Regions from separate parts of the Homo sapiens genome. Here region 1 is linked to region 2. The links are contacts of gene promoters, found by promoter capture Hi-C in blood cells and fetal thymus (Javierre and others, 2016). All regions are on one chromosome and are shown on one strand. Each heading gives the region's core, a stretch centred on a gene start or on the middle of the fragment in contact. The rest is flanking DNA. Distances are from core to core; before and after follow the strand shown.

The links. Contacts are between HindIII fragments. The CHiCAGO score rates a contact against its expected background, and 5 or more counts as called.
Region 1: a contact is called between a fragment that was not itself captured here and the fragment with the promoter of AP2M1 in region 2, in 8 of 17 cell types (M2 macrophages, endothelial precursors, M0 macrophages and 5 more). The highest score is 12.2, in M2 macrophages.

The regions. Positions count from the first base shown.
Region 1 is chr3:183,898,643-183,903,113 of GRCh38, forward strand. It overlaps the pseudogene CYP2AB1P. Among named protein-coding and RNA genes, the nearest start is that of MIR4448, 14 kb to the left of the region's middle. The HindIII fragment of the contact is 4,315 bases long and covers 1-4,002 here.
Region 2 is chr3:184,172,882-184,177,074 of GRCh38, forward strand. AP2M1 (adaptor related protein complex 2 subunit mu 1) reads left to right here and starts at 1,974. Exons shown (of 12, transcript NM_004068.4): 1 at 1,974-2,078; 2 at 4,070-4,186. The coding sequence starts at 4,113. DVL3 (dishevelled segment polarity protein 3) reads left to right here. Exons shown (of 15, transcript NM_004423.4): 15 at 1-733. RefSeq lists enhancers at 2,022-2,091, 3,624-4,193 and a silencer at 2,302-2,351. The HindIII fragment of the contact is 5,273 bases long and covers 1,455-4,193 here.

The sequences.
Region 1 (4,471 bases), core at 595-3,094, 270 kb before region 2:
TGTAAACTTGCTGGCCAATTTCTGCCAAGGACAGAATGACAGTGTAAAACATCTCCATTGAACACATTGGTTCACTTACCTAGAGTGGCATTTTCGTATAAATACAAACAGCAGGGCATATGGTAGGAAAAGAAAACACTTTAGAGTCAGAGGGACATGCATTTGAAACTCAGCTAAGTCACTTACTAGCTGTGTTTGGGCAGTTTCTTAAGCTGCCTATGCTGAAGTTTCTCTATCTATGGAAAAGAAACAGCAACAAAGCGTCCGAAGGATAGGGCTTCTGTGAAGAAAAAAATCTGTGGAGGAAGGAACCTCAAGTCTGGGCAAATTAATAATAAGTTAATAATGGGGCTGGGCATGGCGGCTTATGCCTGTAATCCCAGCACTTTGAGAGGCAGAGGCAGGAGTTCAAGACCAGCCTGGCCAACCTGGTGAAACCCCGTCTTTACTACAAATTAAAAAAAAAATAAAAATAATAAAAATTAGCTGGACGTGGTGGCACGTGCCTGTAATACCAGCTACTTGGGAGGATGAGGTGGGAGAATTGCTTGAGCCCCGGAGGTGGAGGCTGCAGTGAGCTGAGATCACACCACTGTACTCCAGGGCAGTACTCGGGGCAGAGCCAAAGCTCCTTTCCGAGGAAAGTCTCAGGGCTCCCGCCACCACCTCTATGTACAGAGGCATCACCCTGCACCAGGGCACCAAGATGAGTCGCTCTGTTTCATTTTCATTAAAATGGCAACCTCACCACCTACACATGTTGGTATGTTACCTGTTGCGGGAAGTCAGGGACCCCGAACGGAGGGACTGGCTGAAGCCATGGCAGAAGAACCTGGATTGTGAAGATTTCACGGACATTTATTAGTTCCCCAAATTAATACTTTTATAATTTCTTATGCCTGTCTTTACTGCAATCTCTAAACATAAATTGTAAAGATTTCATGGACACTTATCACTTCCCCAGTCAATACCCTTGTGATTTCCTATGCCTGTCTTTACTTTAATCTCTTAATCCTGTCAGCTGAGGAGGATGTATGTTGCCTCAGAACCTTGTGATAATTGCATTAACTGCACAAATTGTAGAGCATGTCTGTTTAAATGATATGAAATCTGGGCACCTTGAAAAAAGAACAGGATAACAGCAATTGTTCAGGGAATACGAGAGATAACCTTAAACTCTGACCACCGATGAGCCGGGTGGAACAGAGCCATATTTCTCTTCTTTCAAAAGCAAATGGGAGAAATATCACTGAATTCTTTTTCTCAGCAAGGAAGATCCCTGGGAAAGAGAATACGCGCCTGGGGGTATAGGCCTATAAACGGCCCCCCTAGGTGTGCCTGTCTCTTATGGTCGAGGCTATAGGGGTGAAATAGACCCCAGTCTCCCATAGCACTCCCAGGCTTATTAGGAAGAGGAAATTCCCGCCTAATAAATTTTTGGTCAGACCAGTTGCTCTCAAAACCCTGTCTCCTGATAAGATGTTATCAATGACCATGGTGCCCGAAACTTCATTAGCAATTTTAATTTTGCCCCAGTCCTGTGGTCCTGTGATCTTGCCCTGCCTCCACTTGCCTTGTGATATTCCATTACCTTGTAAAGTACTTGATGTCTGTGACCCACACCTATTTGCACATTCCCTCCCCTTTTGAAAATCCCTAATAAAAACTTGCTGGTTTTTGCGGCTTGTGGGGCATCACGGAACCCACCGACACGTGATGTCTCCCCCAGACGCCCAGCTTTAAAATTTCTCTCTTTTGTACTCGTCCCTTTATTTCTCAAGCTGGCCGACGCTTAGGAAAAACAGAAAAGAACCTACGTGACTATCGGGACAGATTCCCCGATAGTTACCCCAGTTAGCCTTGACTCCCAGGATACACACCTTTGTGTAATCCCCTCCCCTTGAGGATAGGATGGATTTAGTAACTCACTTCTAACAAATAGAAAATGGGCCAGACGCAGTGGCTCATGCATGGAATCCCAGCACTCTGGAAGGCCAAGGTGGGAGGATCACTTGAGCCCAGGAATTTGAGACCAACCTAGGCAACATGGTGAAACCCCATCTCTACCAAAAATTTAAAAATTAGCCCATTGTGGTGGCACAATGTGGTGCCTGTAGTTCCAGCTACTCAGGCAGCTGAGGTGGGAGGATCACCCAAGCCTGGGAGGTTGAGGCTGCAGTGAGCTATTATTGTGTCCCTTCACTCCAACCCAGGCAACAGAGGGAGACACTGTCTCAAACCAACAACAACAACAACAACAAACCCAACAAATAGAATATGGCAAAAGCGGCCGGGTGCGGTGGCTCACACCCGTAATCCCAGCACCTTGGTAGGCTGAGGCAGGCCAATCACTCGAGGTCAGGAGTTCAAGACCAGCCTGGCCAACATGGTAAACTCCATCTCTACTAAAATATACAAAAATTAGCCAGGCATGGTGGCACATGCCTGTAATCACAGCTACTCGGGAGGCTGAGGCAGGAGAATTGCTTGAGCCCAGGAGGCAGAGGCTGCACTGAGCTGAGATTGCACCACTGCACTCCAGCCTGGGGTGACAGAGCGAGATTCTGTCTCAAAAAAAAAGAATATGGCAAAAGCAATGGGATATCACATCTAAGATTAGGTTACAAAAAGACCATTGCTTCTATTTTGGGTGCCCTCTTGCTTGCTCTCTCTGATGGGGTTCAGCTGCCATGTTTTGAGCTACCCTATGCAGAGGCCCATGTGTCAAGGAACTGAAGGTCTCCAGCCAACAGTTCATGAGCAACCGGGTCCTGAAGACCTCCATGTAAGTGAGCTTGAAGTGGAGCCTCCCCTAGGGGAGTCTTCAGGTGACACTGTAGCCCCAACAACAACTTGATGGTAACCTCATGAGAGACCTTGAGTCAGAGGCATCCAGCTGAGCCACACCCATTTTCCTAACCCTCAGAAACTGTGAAATGATAAATGCTGTTGTTCTAAGCCACTAAGTTTTGGGGTAATTTGTTACACAGTAAGATAGGTAAGTAATTCAACATCTGTCATCTAGGATCTGCAAGGCTCCGTCAACAATACAGAGCACCATTGTACCGAATGACACCGTGGGCACAAAGCCCTCAGCACACAGCAAGCCTGGGCAAAGAGCAGGTGTCCTCATGTTATTGTCCAGCTCACGTCAAAAATCTGCTCGGAAAGCTATCTCAAGCTGGATCACCAGAGAGCTATCATCTTCAACTATGCTCGAGACCAACCTGGGCAACATGGTGAAACTGCATCTCTGCAAAAAAACAAAGCAACAACAACAACAAAAACAACGAAAATTAGCCAGGCATGGGGGCTCATGCCTGTAGTCCTAGCTACTCGGGAGGGTGAGGTGGGAAGATCGATTGAGCTGGGAGATAGAGGCTGTGGTGAGCCGTGATCGTGCCAATGCACTCTAGCCTGGGTGACAGAGCAAGACTCTGTCTCAAAAATAAATAAATATTGGCCGGACGCGGTGGCTCATGCCTGTAATCCCAGCACTTTGGGAGGCTGAGGCAGGCAGATCACTTGAGGTCAGGAGTTCTAGACGAGCCTGGCCAACATGGTGAAACCCTATCTCTACTAAAAAATACAAAAATTAGCCGGGCATGGTGGCACACACCTGTCATCCCAGCTACTCGGGAGACTGAGGCAGAATAGCTTGAACCTGGGAGGCAGAGGCTGCAGTGAGCCAAGATTGAGCCACTGCACTCCAGCCTAGGTGACAGAGCAAGACTCCATCTCAAAAAAAAAAAAGAATAGAGGTTAAAAATAAATAATTATTTATATAAACTTCAACTGTGTTATTTTGGCTGACTGTAGGAATGAAAGGAATTTTATCTCTTAAAAGGAATTGAGATAAGAAGCAGCTGCCATCTTGAAGAATATTTCTGCATCTTTTAAAAACTCCTGCTTAAATCACTGCCACTACATGGTCCACTGGCCCACAAAAGAATATTGTGAATGATGATCCTTGTCATAACTTACAGGCATGTGATAAGCCAAAGCTTTCCTGATACAGGCATGCTTCCTTTTATTACATAATAACTCATAATTAATCGAGATTTCCTTTTTTCCCTTCACTCCAATGAAATTCAGACTCGAGTTTTATGTACATATGTGGCAACTGTTCTTGATTTGACTTATTTTTATAACTTTCTTCCTCTCTCCTTATTTGGCACTTGTTTTCTTAACCTTGCTATAAAATGAAAGAAGCAAGCAAGGCATTTCTGCTAGAAACCAGTTTTAAGGAGATAATACAAAATGCAGACCAAGCCTAAGGCACATAAATTGCAAATGGCCTAAATGTTCACCAACAAGGGTTAAAATTGCAAAACATCCATTTGGTGGAACATTATGCAGCCATTAAGAATGATGTAGATGCCCAGTGTGGTGGCTCACACCTGCAATCCCAGCACTTTGGGAGGCCTAGGCGGGCGATCACCCGAGGTCAGGAGTTCGAGACCAGCCTGGC
Region 2 (4,193 bases), core at 724-3,223:
TTCATGTACTTCTCTCTCTGACTCTGTCTTGTCCGACTCTCTTGAGAATTTCTCAACGATTGCTCATGCCTGTCAGTATCAGTGCTTCCATCGTTCCATCTTTGATTCACTTCTCTTTCCTTTCTATTTACTCCCAAAATGGAGTCATTCATCCTGATGTCCTCAATTGCTGCTGATATGCTGGTGATTCCCAAATACATAGCTCCAACCCCCAACTTCCCCCAGACTTTAGATCTGTATTGGTATTACCTACTGGACATCTCTATGGACAGTTCCGTATAGACTCAACTCATCTGCCCAACCAAGTATGTTCCTCCTGAATTCCTCTCCTGGTTACTTCATCACAATCTACATAGGCTCACCAGCTAGAAACATTTATGAGCTTACATTCCTTCTTCCCATATCTTATCAGCATATCATATCCATTTCACTCCAACACTCTGTCTTGAATTTGGCCCTCCCTCTCCCCTCTCTACTTTAATTCATTGGAGCATGGGATTTGGAGTTAGGTGGTTTTGGGTTTGAATTCCAGCTCTACTATTTTTGGTTGTGTGATAGAGTTATTTAACCTCTCTGAGCCTCAGTTCCCTCGTATGTAAAATGATGATAATAATACCTACCTCACAGGGTTGTTGTGAGGATTTAAATTAGATATTGTACGAAAAGTGCCTAGCACAGTGCCTGGCACACAGTAGAGTAGGTGCTCAATAAATGGTAGCTATTATTATTATTATTTTATCATTATTATTATTTACTCTAAATTGGTAGCAGTTTAGGGTATTTTTGGAAGATAAAGCTTTTGCAAAGGTAGAAGTGAAGCCTTGAGTGCTGGTTCAAAAATTAGAAGTGCCTGTATTCAGTCACTTAATGACTTCAGGCCGTGACTATGATGTGAGAGAGGTCAGATCTTCATCCTGCCACATCGTGGCTTCTGGCTGGAGGCTGGGAAGGACTGTAACATTTGCAACCAGATCTGTCCTTTCTTGCCCTTCCTTCCTCCCATGACAGGCGTAGTCCTGCCCAAGGAAGGCAGCAGTTTATCTCTGCCTACAGAAAGAGAAGAGCCAACAGATTTTCTTAAGACTCTGCAAGAACCAAGCAGGCCTTTCATGTGTGAGGGTTGGGTCTGTCTCCTCAGCTTGGATGTAAAGATTCTGTTTATCAAAGAGGGGATTTCAAATCCCATGTCAAACTAAATTCAACTCTTCGAACGTCTTCTAAGCAACATATATGCCTGTCACTAGAAGGCATACACAGTCGCATAGGTATAGCTAAGGAGAACATCGGCTCGTTCATGAAAAGCTGTAGCTGACCTCCGGGAAGAGTGTACAGTCATGGACTTATTTGTGAAAAGGTTTAGTTTCTTCCAAGTAGTCGCCTCCTTCCTCCCCGCTCCTCTCCTTGGGTCTTGATCCCTTGGAAAAAGCTCATGTCCGGAACAAATATATGAGAAAAGCTTGAGAGAATCAGAGGTAGTGTTAGAAAGCAGTAAATTCAGCACAAACACTTCTACTGCCCAGTTGTATTTATTTGTGTGTAAAGTGAGGACAGCCAGTCCTGGGACTCTGGAGACAGAAAAGGCCTACAGCAATCCAAGGCTTAACAGATGTGCTTCCACAAATGGCATTAATATCCCAAAGCTCTCCAGAACACAAATAGGAACAGGAGGAAGTGCAGGGACTACAATTCCCAGAGCGCTCAGTGAAAAAAAAAAAAAAAAAAAAAAAAAAAAAAAAAATGAGGCGGGTGGAGCGGTGTATGCTGGAATGTGTATTTCTGGTAGGGCCGACTAAGGCCACGCCTACCCCTTCCTGAGGCGGGGGCGGTTTCTCGAAGGCAGTCGGTAGTTGTAGTTTTGCTAAACCTAGAGCGCTTCAAATTGCAAGCAAGGAGGCCGCGAGGCCTGACGGGATTTGTAGTCGGCGCTAGACGCCGGCGCGCACGCGCAGCCGGGGCCGGGGCGGGGCGGCGGCACTGCGGTGAAAGCCGAGGCAGCGGGCAGACGAGCAGGGGGCGGGCGGACATCTTGGGATCCGGAGAGTGGCCGGGCCGGCAGAGCAGGGGGCCGAGGACACCAGGTGAGCCGGGGATCTGGCCTTATGGCGTGGAGGAGGACGCTGCGGGTCGTCTGCCTCGCCGCGCAGCTTTGTCCTGCCCTGCACTGAGCTGGCGGAAAGCTGCCCACACCCGGGAGTGGCTTCAGCCTTCGGACCCGGGAGCTAGCTGACGGTGGGGCGGGGGCGCCCGGGGCGCGATTGCAGGGCTGGCGGGGAGCGGTGCCCTCCACCTGACCCGCCTGGCGCCTCCCATGAGAGGGATACCGCTTGGAATCCTCCCAGAGCAGGAACGCTGCGCAGCGCCCCCTCCCTAGGATCGTGCCAACCCCCTACCCCTCCGCGCAAGGACAATTTCCCCGTCTCGTAGGACAGTGACACCCCTTTGTGCCGCCGCCTTGCACCGTGACAGGTCTCACGCCATGCGGCACCCCCTCCTCTTAGTTCAGTGGCACCCCGCGGCTCTTCTTCCTTAGACCTGTGACAGCCCCCGCACCCCCATGGCACCATCTTTTCCCACAATGTCCTCCCCAAGGCGAAAAGCCTACCACCCTCTCATTACTCTGCACCTGAACCCCAAGCAGGCTCTGTCTCCCCAGCTTTCCCTTATTCACCACTGTCAGTTCCCCCGGCCGGTTTTTCCTTCTTAAAGCCTTGACCTTTTCCATACTGGAAACCCTTACCTTTACGTTCACTCCACCAGCCCAGTTTGCTGCTGTGGGCTCACCTGAGGACGCTGCCTGGCTTTCACTGAAGGTCTTTCCCCTTAACTAAATGTTCCATTCTTGCCCAAGGCCCCCCTCTGGTTCTCGGGTGCCCTTCGCTACCTACCACTCGATACCTGTGGACTTGGTGCTTTGCCCCAGGCTCTACCTCCATTTTGCATCTCCTCTCCCAGCCTGTTTGGGACTGAGGGATGGGATGAGTCCACCACCTTGAGAGACCGCTCACCCCTCTGGAAGACCTTGACAGCCACAGGAAAAGGCTTTATTTTCCAGTTTAGAAAAGTCCTCTAAAGTACTCCCTGTGAAATTAATACCAGGGCTAATCCAGGAAATCTAAAACCAAATTAATGCCTTTTCTCAAACAGTCTAAATTAATTTGACCCAAATAATTTGGATAATTCAGGCATCCTGACATCCCTGCTTCTTGCTTATAGGCACCCAGGCCAGAAATGAGTTACTTCATGGGCCTGGAATCACGATTTCAGATGGAAGGATTTCTTAATTTTATGAGCCTGCGCCACCCCCACCCCCCAGTCCTTATTTTTATTGCATTCCAGAGCTTTTTGAAAGGGGGGTGGTAATCAGAAATAACTGTAATAAGCAGCTTGGGTGATGGAAGTGTAGTCTGCCAGCCCTAGGACCTTCCTCCTGTGCCCTTTGCCTGCTTATTCCACTGCCTGGAAGAGGTTAAGCCACACTCCCGGGTCCACATTAGGGCCTAAGGGCTCCCTTCTCTTCTCCTTATACCCTTTCCTGGAATGTTTGAATTCTGTGAATTAGAGTGCCGGAAGTTCAGGCCCTGCGACCTTCTCTGAAGGGTAGTGGAGCCCAAGAGACTGGATGCTCTAAAGGTTATGCCTGGGGGCCCCAGGCCTGAACCAACTGGAGTAATGCCTACCGCCATTCCTGCAGCCGCAGGCAGGCAGGCAAGCCTTAGTGAGTCACTGGCGGGAGCCCGAGAGTCTGCACAGGAGGGGGCCGAAAAGGATCATTCCTGAGCTCAGTGCTGGGGAGAGGGGGCGGGGGTTACTGATGCTCAGCCCCAGGAAAGGGAGGGTCAAAATGGCCTTAGAATCCTGGGCCTAATCTCTCTCTGTTTCTTTCTCCCATCTAGTGTGGAATAAACAGGAACTGGAGCCTGGCTGAGGGGAGGGGCATGTCTGGGAGGGCTGCAGGGTCACTTACTAAAGGGTTGAGTCAGGAAAGAAGCTCCAGTGACCTGCACAGCTCCACAGGGGATGTTGGCAGCGATTCTGAGGTCTTCTTTTACCCTGCCCCCGCCTGTCCTAGGTCTGTTCTCAGAGCGATGGGCCGCGGAGACTGATCTGCCGCCATGATTGGAGGCTTATTCATCTATAATCACAAGGGGGAGGTGCTCATCTCCCGAGTCTACCGAGATGACATCGGGTGAGTC